Linked DNA regions of Homo sapiens: region 2 is linked to region 1. Evidence: promoter capture Hi-C in 16 types of primary human blood cells and fetal thymus (Javierre and others, 2016). All regions are on one chromosome and are shown on one strand. The core of a region is centred on a gene start or on the middle of the fragment in contact, and the rest is flanking DNA. Distances in the headings are between cores, read along the strand shown.

Region 1 (5,515 bases), core at 1,448-3,947:
CTTTTTAATCTTCCATGAAGGCAGAAAATACAGTAACTGATCATCGTTTCTTATAATAAACCTTGTATAATTAAAAACTCGCCAGGCGCGGTGGCTCACGCCTGTAATCCCAGCACTTTGGGAGGCTGAGGCAGGCGGATCACAAGGTCAGGGGTTTGAGACCAGCCTGGCCAACATGGCGAAACCCCGCCTCTACTAAAAATACAAACATTAGCCAGGTGCGGTGGCACGAGCCTGCGGCCCCAGCTACTCGAGAGGCTAAGGCAGGAGAATCGCTTGAACCCGGGAGGCGGAGGTTGCAGTGAGCCTAGACTGTGCCATTGCACTCCAGCCTGGGCGACAGAGCAAGACTCCGTCTCAAAACAAAAACAAAAACAAAACAACAACAACAAATAAATCTCTTCATTGTCCTTCATCTTTTGCAGGCTAAGTAACCCTACGTGGCCCAAATCTTTCGGTAGTATTTTATTTTGGTACTAATGCTCATTGGTAAAGACTGCTTTTTCAGTGCTGGAACAATTTTTGTACTGTATACAAAGGATGTAGAGATTTTGTTAAGATCTTCAGTCTCCAAATGCTGTTATTAAACTGTAGACATCTGGATTTTAGACACTTGTTTTGTCTGGGGAAAATTCGTTTTACGGCCGAGAGGTTTTTGAGTGTAATCTTTTTGGATTTCATGTAAGAAACACAGTACCAATGGTTGTCATTCTCTAGTATAACAATTTTTCACTAGCCTTTTCTGTGTTGTTTGTTCTAATAACATTTCCATATAAAGACGTAGAACCAAAAAATCAAAGTTCCTTTGTTTAGACAATGAGTCATTAAAAAATTCTCACTTTACCTTGGTTGATTAGTGCTGCCCAAAGCCTCAAACTCTTCTGTAATTACCGTACTTGTTTATTGAAGGCACTTAAGAGAAGGCGCTGGCAAATCATCTGCCCTGGTGCGGGCTATTTGAGTCTTAAAGTGGAAATGCAAAGTCTGAAATGCACTCGCTGCCAGGCACACTGAGTCTTAGATGCAGGTGGGGTTGACGGTACCAGGTGTGATTTGACAAGCCGTGGGCTGGCCCTGTAACAGTCCCCAGGCTAGTGTCAAGTTCCGTGTAACATCCTCTTTCCTTGAGGACTTCAAGAATCTACCAAAAGAAAAGCATCTCTTGAGGAGTAACTTAGGCCAGTTCCACGTTGAAGAGAAAAGTAAACGCCTATCACAGCAGCTCTACAGGATTAGGAACCGGGGCAATGGGGATGGTGGTGGTTCCGGTGAGGGAGCCTTCACTTGTCACTTTCTTCAATGCCTAAACCCTCCTTTTGTTAGCTGGCCCACACAGGCCAATGCCTACTCCCTAACGCATCCTCACCCTCCCCCAACCAGATGTGATGAGGGGAGCAAGCGTCCCCTGAGAAGCGTCTGGGCTCCCTCGGGGCAGCTGCGGTGGGGAGCTCCGGCTCTATCCGCAGGGCTTTCTTTAGTCCCTAGTCAGCGGGAATATTTTTACTGATTGGAAAAATAACCAGTCGTGCTCAGGTGCTCTCCCTCACTGAGATATACTGGCGAGGCTTCCCTGGCCGCAACGCCGCCGTAAGTGCTGCTCCCACGCGCGGTATCCCCGCGTACTGCTCAGTGCCCAACTCCGACGGGCTCTCAAGTGCCGCAACGCCCCGCCCCTTGCCACCTCCACACGTCTCATTGGCCAGAGCCTGCGTCCGCCTCGGCTCCTGACTGGCGGCTGCGCCTGTCGGTCCGTGCGGCAGGGACATTTCCGCATTGAAGGGGCTGCTCCGAATGGAGGGGGAGGGGAGGTGTTTAGGAGAAAGTAGGGGCTGTGGGTGTCGGGAGCCGGCTGACGGGTGGACAAGGGGGGGTTAGCAGCTGGGCTGCGACCGTTAGGGAGGGGCTCAAGGTGTGCATGTGTGAGGGAAGAGAGAGAGAGAGAAGGGCGCCTCAGAGGTGACTTTCAGCCTGCGAGCCTTCTTCCCGGGGCGCCATAAACGCCCCCAATTTCCCAGCTGCTAAAGGAAGAGGAAGGTGGGTCTCGCTGGCGGCTTGAGGAGGGGCGGGGTTGGGCTTCCGGCGACCCCCTGGATGAGTGTGTTTCCCGCTCTCGCTGGCCCGCTGTGTGGTCTCGGAGGCGGAATTTGGGCTTCTGAGGAGCGCAGGGCAGGCGGGGCGAGAATATGTACGGGAAGGGTCGGTGCCCTCCCTTGGGACTCCCGCGCCGGTGCACGGGTCTGCCTCTAGCCGGTGACCCCTTAGTGTCCGCTGCGGGGGAGGGGCAGCGTAGCCTTCGGCCCCTACCGAGAAAAAGCTGCGGCCGGGTTTCACTGCTCGAGGCGGGAAGGCGGGGAGCTGAGGCCCCGACCGGTCGGCCAGCCAGAGCGTGGAATTGGTAGCGCCTCCTAGTCCCAGGATGTTTATGGCTGGTGAAAATGGTTGCACTGCCCCCGCTGGCCGGCCTCGCCCGCCTCCCCGACCCCTGCTTGGGCGGGAGCCGCTGTTAACCGGGGTTTTCGGGGGAGGCGTTTGGGGCCTGGACGGCGGCGCGGGGAGGGGGCAGCTAGGGGCGCGGCCTGCCAGTGCCTCCTGCAGTACAGCCCTGGAGGGCGTGGGGACTTGGGGGCGGTGAAATAGCCGCTGTAGGTCCGCCTCTTTCATTGAAGAAATTTAAGTTCGTGTGGTTTTACCTTTTCCGGGAGTCTCCAGCTGGCCCTCATTTGTGTCCGGAGCTCAGGAGTTCCCAAACCGACTCAGTCGCACCAAGTTTCCGTCTTTTGGAATTGGGGAAGGAGTTTCTTTCTTTCTTTTCTTTTTTCTTGAGCCAGTTTTAATCGCTTTGAATAAATACTCCCTTAAGTAGTTAAATATAGGAGGAGAAAGAATACATCGGTTGTTAAAGCAGGAGAGGAAGAGAGACCTGCCCTGTAGCGTGACTCCTCTAGAAAAAAAAAAAAAAAGCCGGAGTATTTTACTAAGCCCCTAAAATGTCGAGATTTGTACAAGGTAAGAAATGCTGCTGCTTATATCCCGAGTTGCTTCAGGCAAATTTGGGTACTGACAGTGGAGAGGTTGGTGGGTGGTTTGGAAGTGGAAATGTTCATTTGAGATAACATTTGCGAAACCCTTTTCGTTGAATTGTCATCTGAGCTGCCTTGAGCTGCTGGGTTGACGTTCCAGACGCGTATAATTTATGCTCCTGTACCCTGCTGGGTTTAGTTTTGCCTCCCTGAAATCAGGTTAGTAGTACCGTCGCTTTCCTGGATAGTGGCTGTAAGTGATAAAACAGGATTTTTGGCTGCTAATTAATCCTTGTTCTCTTTTCCTGGTCTGTGTCAAGGTACCTGTGCGTGCACGCAGACGGGAAGGGCTGGGGAAGCGGGAGGACTGAGAAAAGCCGGGTGGGTTTTGCCGGGACTGTTGGGGAAGCTTTAGTGTTCTCCGCTTCTACTTCGTTTGTGTGTACGTGGTTTGCGTCTCAGATTCACTTATTGCGAAACTGGGAGTAGCCCGAAGAAGCTGGAGGTCATTTCAGCTGGAGAAATGACTTTGCTGCATTGCTGTGTTTATTTTTTCCTTTTTTGAACTATGAAAAGATGATTAAGGTTCCTTTGAAGTTTGAAAACTGCTCTCTAAATTCCACATGTGTATTTAAAAAGGGTTAGGGAATGCCTCAACTGAGATTATCAGTAACGTGTATATGAATGCATGTGTGTACGGTGTACTCACTGAAATTGGTGCTGGCATAAACCTTTGACACCAGTTTGTAGCATGAGATTTGCCTTCTGGTATGCAAGTAAACTCTTTCCTTGTAGACTCCAGTGTGTGAAAGCTTCAGCCATCTTGATGAACACACAGCTAGTAAAGTTCACAAACACTTATTATGCTTCCTGATAAATGTAGGTGTACTTTTGGAAAAAAAAAGTTGTGTCAGTAATGGCCATCATTTGACCCTGGGAATAAAAATGCCCTACTGAGTTCTACATCGCTTTATTAACTCTTCTTTAAATTTTGTGTAGTAGATTAAAGTAAGAGAATTCGACTGCCTGTGTTATTATCGAAACAGATCGAACGCTATGCTTGCCTTTAGCGCTAAGCTCAGAAATGTCACTTGTTATTAGACTTTCAAATTCATGTTATACCTTATATGTGGTAAGAGATGCTTATGTTCTGATTGAGTAAATGTCTTATTCAAGAATAGAAAGGCAGAACTGTTAGAAACGTACTGGTTTTGTAATAACAATATTCAGTTACCATAAAGGCGGTATTTTGCAAGAATATGCTAGGTAAAAGTGGACAAGTTACTTCTCTTTAAAAGTTAGAAATATTAATAAACCCAAGGTGTTCCATGTAGAGTTATGCTTTAGAATAGGTTGCAGAATTGGCAAGCATTGACTGATTTCACAGCCTTTGCTGTAATGCCAACTTGTCCTCAGAAGATTCAAAATCAAGTGGTAAGAGTTGCTGTGTATGTTTGTCATTACTTTGTCATCCACTTTTTTTAAAAAAACTTTTTATATTTTGGAATACTTCAGGATTTATAGAAAAGTTGCACATTTGTCAAAACTAAGAAATTAACATAGGTACATTACTGTTAACTAAAGGCTTTGTTCAGATTACAGTTCCCATGATTCACTCTAAGATACCAGATTGCACTTAGTTGCCAGCCACTTTTTTTCTTTTTTCTTTTTCTTTCTTCTTTTTTTGTCAAGGTCTTACTGTGTTGTCCACGCTGGAGTACAGTGGGTATTCACAGGAACAATCATAGTGCACTACAGCCTCAAGCCCCTGGGCTCAAGCTGTCCTCCTGCGTTAGCCTCCTGAGTAGATGGGACTTAGGCATATGCCATAGCCTATAGTTGTCATACATTTTTACTTTAAATGGTAGTTTTCCTTTTAAGATGGGCAGTTTTGCACAAGAATATGACACCTCCTCAAAATTTTTTGACATGAATGTGCTCCTGTTTATCATTGTTTAAATTTTGTACAGTGTGAGCCCTCTATATGTTTAACTCTGCTGCTGTTGTAAATGATAAACCTAATTGGCAAATGACACAGCTGTCTCCACAAAAGAGCTTTCAAGTGTAAGGGTTGGAAATTTTGGTTTTGATTATTTTTTTAAGCAAATCAAATTCTTTGATCTTTGCTGCAGAAAATATTGATATTTCCAATCACTGGCACTTAGTAGTTCATGCTCCTTCATAGGGGAAAGAGTTAACAAATGTTAGGTTTCTAACTTTTTTTTTTCATGGGTTTTCTCAAGCTTTATAAGAGTCCTGAGATGTAGATTTTTTATCCTGCCCTTACAGGTGAGGAAAGTTAAGTATCTTGTCCAAAGTTCACAGCTTGTATAAAGCACTGATTGATTGATAGATTGATTTTGAGGCAGGGTCTCACTTTGTTGCCAGGCTGGAGTGCAGTGGTGCGATCACAGCTCACTGCAGCCTTGATCTCCTTGGCTTAAGCAATTTTCCCACCTCAGCCCCCTGAGTAGCTGGGACTACAGGTGCACACC
Region 2 (5,410 bases), core at 1,922-4,421, 1.4 Mb after region 1:
TTTTTTTTTTTTTTTTTTGAGATGGAGTTATGCTCTGTTGCCCAGGCTGGAGTGCAGTGGCATGATTTTGGCTCACTGCAACCTTTGCCTCCTGGATTTAAGCAATTCTCCTGCCTCAGCCTCCCAAGTAGCTGGGATTGCAGGTGCCCGCCACCACGCCCAGCTAATTTTTGTATTTAGTAGAGATGGGGTTTCACCATGTTGGCGAGGCTGGTCTCAAACTCCTGACCTCAGGTGATCCACTCGCCTCAGTCTCCCAAAGTGCTGGAATTACAGGCGTGAGCCACTGCGCCCGGCCCTTTTGCTTTATTTTCTACTTTTTTTTTAATTGCTTGTTGCCTAAGACAGACCAAGATTTTTTGTTTTTGTTTTCTTCTTCTTTTTTTTTTTTTTTTTTTTTTAGATAGGGTCTGGCTGTCACCCAGGCTGTAGCGTAGTAGCGCAATCTCAGCTCACTGCAAATTCTGCCTCCTGGGCTCAAACCATCTTCCCACCTCTGCCTCCCAAGTAGCTGGGACTATATGCACAGCTAATTTTTGTATTTTTTGTAGAGATGGGGTTTCACCATCTGGCCTAGGCTGGTCTTGAACTCCTGAGCTCAAGCGATCCACCCACCTTGGTCTCCCAAAGTGCTGGGATTACAGATGTGAGCCATTGTCCCAGTCTAGATTTTTTGTTTCAATACATGAACTAAAAGCTTTAAATTTCTATTATGTCAACTATCAATTTTTTCTTTTATAGATCACGATTTTAGCGTCATATCTAAGCAAACTTTGCTTAACTTAATATCAAAAGATTTTCCTCTTTTTCTTCTGAAATTTATAGTTTTAGCTTTTATATTTAGGTCTATGATCCACTTAAATCAATTTTTATGTGTGATGTGAGGTAAGAATCAAAGTTCTTTTTTTTCCCTCCCACATCATTCATTGAAAAGATTACCCTTTCCCCATGGATTGTTTTAGCACCATTGTTGAAAATCAACTGACCATAATGTAAAGGTTTATTTGTGGACTATTTGATTCCATTGATCGATATATCTGCCTCTATGCCAGTATTACAGTCTTCATTACTGTAGCTTTATAATAAGTTTTGAATTCAGGTAGTGGAAGTTCTCCATCTTTTTCTGTTTCGAAATCCTTTTATTCTGGTTCCTTTTCATTTCATATAAATTTTAGGGCCAAACTTGCCAATTTTTTTTTTTTTTTTTTGAGACAGAGTCTTGCTCTCACCAGGCTGGAGTGCAGTGGCACGATCTCTGTCACTGCAACCTCTGCTTCCCGGGTTCAAGCGATTCTCCTGCCTCAGCTTCCTGAGTGGCTGGGATTACAGGCGCGTGCCAACACGCCCAGCTAATTTTTGTATTTTTAGTAGAGACGGGGTTTTGCCATGTTGGTCAGCCTTGTCTTGAACTCCTGATCTCAGGTGATTTGCCCTCCTTGGCCTCCCCAAGTGCTGGGATTACAGGCGTGAGCCACCGCGCCCGGAATAATGTTCTTTCTTTAAAAATACAAATTAGCAATCCCCTTAATTCCACAAAGAGGAAAAGTAAAAGAACACAGAAATGCTTGAGTTCAATTTGCTGAGACCAATAAAATGCACTTTCAAGAAAACTGCACAGCACTAGCATTGGAGGCCACAAAAATAAGATACGGACTCTATACTCAAGGAATTTATGAACAAATAAATTTTTCTGCTGGCTGAGGTACTTCTCTGACTGTTAAAGCAGGTAAAACGAAGAAATGTTCCTCCGAGACTTCCTACCTATTCTAACCTCTCAAACTTCTAATTGCAACAATGGCAGCTTTATTTTTATCTTAATATTTATGTGTTGAGGGTTCCATATAAGATTAGATTTGAATAAAGCACTGTATGCCTTTAAAAAGGTTTGAAAATCACTGGTCTAATAAAAGAACAGTGAAAACTGACAGGCAGCTATATTATAAAAAGAATACTGGATTGAGGGTTCATGATGACTGTTTTATTCTAGTTGTTGAACATGTACAGCCATGTCGAAGGAAAAGTTCTATTTCTCACCTCTCATAAAGGATGGCATTTTAAAGGTGAATTTTAATGTCATTCATCTAATAAATATTTGTTGCATGCAATAAGCACAATGTTATTCATATATTCATAGTAAAGTAATAGGGAGAAAGGAAGTACGGAATATCCTGAGGATATCAGCTGTCATCAGAGATGTAACAAGCTGGGTCTCAGAGCACAAGTTTGCCAATTGATTAAAAAGGAAAAAAAATGAGGCATCGTAGATAGAATCATAGGTCCAGAAGAACAGAATTAGAAATAGCTACCACTGAATGAACATTTCCTCCATGCATAGACTTTTATCCTCACCACACCTATGGAGATAGAAGTTATTATCCCCATGCAGACAGGGGTATGCCAAAATCACAAAACTCGTGAGTGGCAGCGCCACGTTTGAAACTGGGGTTGTCTGATTTCAAAGCCAAGGCTCTGGGTTCACAGAAGTACATGTACTTAAGAGGTGTGAAGCAACATGGGACTACTGGAAGGAGGCGGTGAGCCACGAGGCTGGAAATGCAGGCACCTGCTCTCGCTCACTTGACCATAGAGCAACTTGGGCAAAGAAGGGGTGGGCTGACATTGGAGTATGGAACAAACGCATGATTTCAAATAAGCATGTGTGTATCCATCCCAGTTCTGTCCGCTGAAAAGGCCTAGAAGCAATAACACACCAAGCCCTGTCGAATGGTGGGGTCCGCCAGGACCTCCAGGCTTGCTCCCCGCCCTACCCGCCAGCTTCTCCGCCACATTCCACTGCCGCAGCAGAACCGGTGTCCTTCACCTGCCTGCGTCTTCTGCAGTTCGTTAAGCAGCGCCCTTAGCTCCTGTGACACTTTAGGGAGAAAGCCGCAGCACCGGCGATGTTGGCCGCCATTAACGCCCGGCAAAGCGCCCGGAACTAGAAGCAGCGAAGAACCCGGGTGGGCAGCGACCGTGACAGCCGAGCCGGAAGCGGAGCTGCGGGAGGGGCCTCGACGCTCCTCCATCTTTTATTGGAGCTCACCGCTGCCAGTCGCGCTGCCTGCCCGTCCCACCCTTTTCGTGCAGGCATTCAGCTAAATGACGGGCGGAGCCCGGCGGCGGCTTCCGGTCGGGGGAAAAAAGTTGGGCCGAAGGAGGGGCCGGGAAGACGCAAGAGGAAGAAGAGAAAACGGCCGGGCGGCGGTGGCTGTAGGTTGTGCGGCTGCAGCGGCTCTTCCCTGGGCGGACGATGGACAGCCAGGGCAGGAAGGTGGTGGTGTGCGACAACGGCACCGGGGTAAGGGCCGCGCGAGGAGGCCTTGGCGGCCACAGACGCCGGCGGGGACGAGCAGCTGGCGCACGGGCCCTCGGCCCCCAGGGCTGCACCTCCGGGCCCTCGGGGCGAAGGGGCGCGGGGCGGTGCCTCCCACCTCCGCGGGCGTGGGAGCGAGCCGGCCGTTCCCTGGTCTCCCTTGAGCCTGCCACCCATTTAGCCTGCCACCCCCTCACCCTTCCGGGTGGGGGCGGCGGGCGAGACCGGCACTGGACATGGAGCCTACTGACCGCCCGGCAGGGACCTGCTCCGCGCTAATGCGGGGGCAATTGGGCTAAAGCGGACGGAAGCGTAAAAGGCTCGGTTTGTGTGTTCCGAGAAGGGCTCTTTTCCCCAGGGCCACCGGTTTGTAAAAAGGAGAAAGACCTAGAGGCCTTCCTCTTCCTGTATAGTTGAAGATACACCAAACGAGAAGCAGGAAGCGGGTTTACTTAAAAAAAAAAAAAAAAAAAGGGAAGTGCTGTCATGGAGTGTGGACCTCAGCCCTTTCGCTGTGTTTGTTGGGCTTTTTATTAGTTTTTTCGAGGGAAGGGGTCCAGATCGGCAGCGCATCGTTCACTTTTTGTTTTACATACTAGTATTTGGCCCAGGAGTAGGCCCACGGAGACCAGCATGTTCCATTGAGTGGTTTTGGGTGACCTAGGATCCCGCAAGACTCAAGTGTTAATTCCACTAGCCTTAGGGGAAGTTAATTAGTGTTGATTATCCCACCCCCAGCCCCCTTTTTTCCCTTCGTTTCAGTATACAGGTAATGTTAGCCTTTAAGATTCAAAAATTGTAAAATCTGACTAAAGCACTGATTTAGAAACTATTTGAAAATTGTTTCTGTAATCCCAGCACTTTGGGAGGCCCAGGCGGGCAGATCACCAGAGGTTAGGAGTTCGAGACCAGCCCAGCCAACGTGGTGAAACCCCGGTCTCTACTAAAAATACAAAAATTAGCCGGCCGTGGTGGTGCTTGCCTGTAATCCCAGCTACTTGGGAGGCTGAGGCAGGAGAATCCCTTGAAGCCAGGAAGCGGAGGTTGCAGTGAGCCGAGATTGCGCCACTGCACTCCAGCCTGGGCGACAAGAGTGAAACTCCGTCTCAATTATAAAAAAAAAAAATTGTTTCATTCAGACCTCCCTCTTGCCAGATTAAAAAAAAATGTATTTTGGGTAGCAAAGTCAGCAAATTAGAAGATGGAAATATTATTTATTCTGGATGACTTCTATAGTGATTTCTAACCATTTTGATGTTGCAACATTTTGTGAGTTTTCTCCCCTCCCTCCCATAAATATGATGTATGAATTAAAGTTCATTTTACTTGAACAAAACACTTTGGAATCTGAATTGTTGAGGGGGAAAAGAGCTGGTATTTACTGCCATAATACTGCCCTTGATTAGATTTGTTACACAATTTTACAAGCAATAATTATGGTAGCTTCATCTGAACTGTGTTAAAAATGGACTAGAGTAAAAAGAGTGTTAACGTACATTGAGGCCAGGCGCGGTGGCTCATGCCTGTAATCCCAGCACTTTGGGAGGTCTAGGCGGGCGGATCACCTGAAGTCAGGAGTTTGAGACCAGGCTGGCCAACATAGTGAAACCCCGTCTCTACTAAAAATACAAAAATTAGCCGGGCATGGTGGTGGGCGTCTGTAATCCCAGCTACTCGGTAGGCTGAGGCAGGAGAATCGCTTGAACCCGGTAGGCGGAGGTTGCAGTGAGCCGAGATCGCACCACTCCAGCCTGGGCGACAGAGCAAGACTCCGTCTCAAAAAAAAAAAAAAAAAAAAAGAAAAACAAAACATATTAATGTGACGGTTTTTAAGAATGTAATATTTTTAAAAAGGCAGATCCACTGCTATGGAAACGTCTAAGATTTTAAGTTGAAAAAGGTTTTAGAATGATTCAGTTTAAGTGTGTGTTCCTTATTAAAGATGTATGTCCACAAACTTGTATCCGCATATGAAAGTTTTGGAGGGATACATAAGAAATGTTCATAATGGTTACCTATGAGACAGAGGATAAGGGAGTGAGGGAAGATGGAGAGGACTTCATGACCTTTCTGAATTATTGGAAAAATGTTCTTTAT

What was found. Contacts are between HindIII fragments. The CHiCAGO score rates a contact against its expected background, and 5 or more counts as called.
Region 2: a contact is called between the fragment with the promoter of ACTR2 here and the fragment with the promoter of UGP2 in region 1, in 1 of 17 cell types (activated CD4 T cells). The highest score is 5.6, in activated CD4 T cells.

Annotation. Positions count from the first base shown.
Region 1 is chr2:63,839,199-63,844,713 of GRCh38, forward strand. It overlaps UGP2 (UDP-glucose pyrophosphorylase 2), which reads left to right and starts at 2,698. Exons shown (of 10, transcript NM_006759.4): 1 at 2,698-3,006. The coding sequence starts at 2,988. It also overlaps a transcript of WDPCP not described here. RefSeq lists enhancers at 1,705-1,884, 2,755-2,804 and a silencer at 2,345-2,654. The HindIII fragment of the contact is 3,639 bases long and covers 1-3,427 here.
Region 2 is chr2:65,224,660-65,230,069 of GRCh38, forward strand. It overlaps ACTR2 (actin related protein 2), which reads left to right and starts at 3,172. Exons shown (of 9, transcript NM_005722.4): 1 at 3,172-3,298. The coding sequence starts at 3,251. LOC124907779 (a long non-coding RNA gene) reads right to left here and starts at 2,940. Exons shown (of 2, transcript XR_007086461.1): 1 at 2,822-2,940. RefSeq lists enhancers at 2,163-3,052, 3,053-3,941, 4,014-4,103 and a silencer at 3,324-3,513. The HindIII fragment of the contact is 6,982 bases long and covers 696-5,410 here.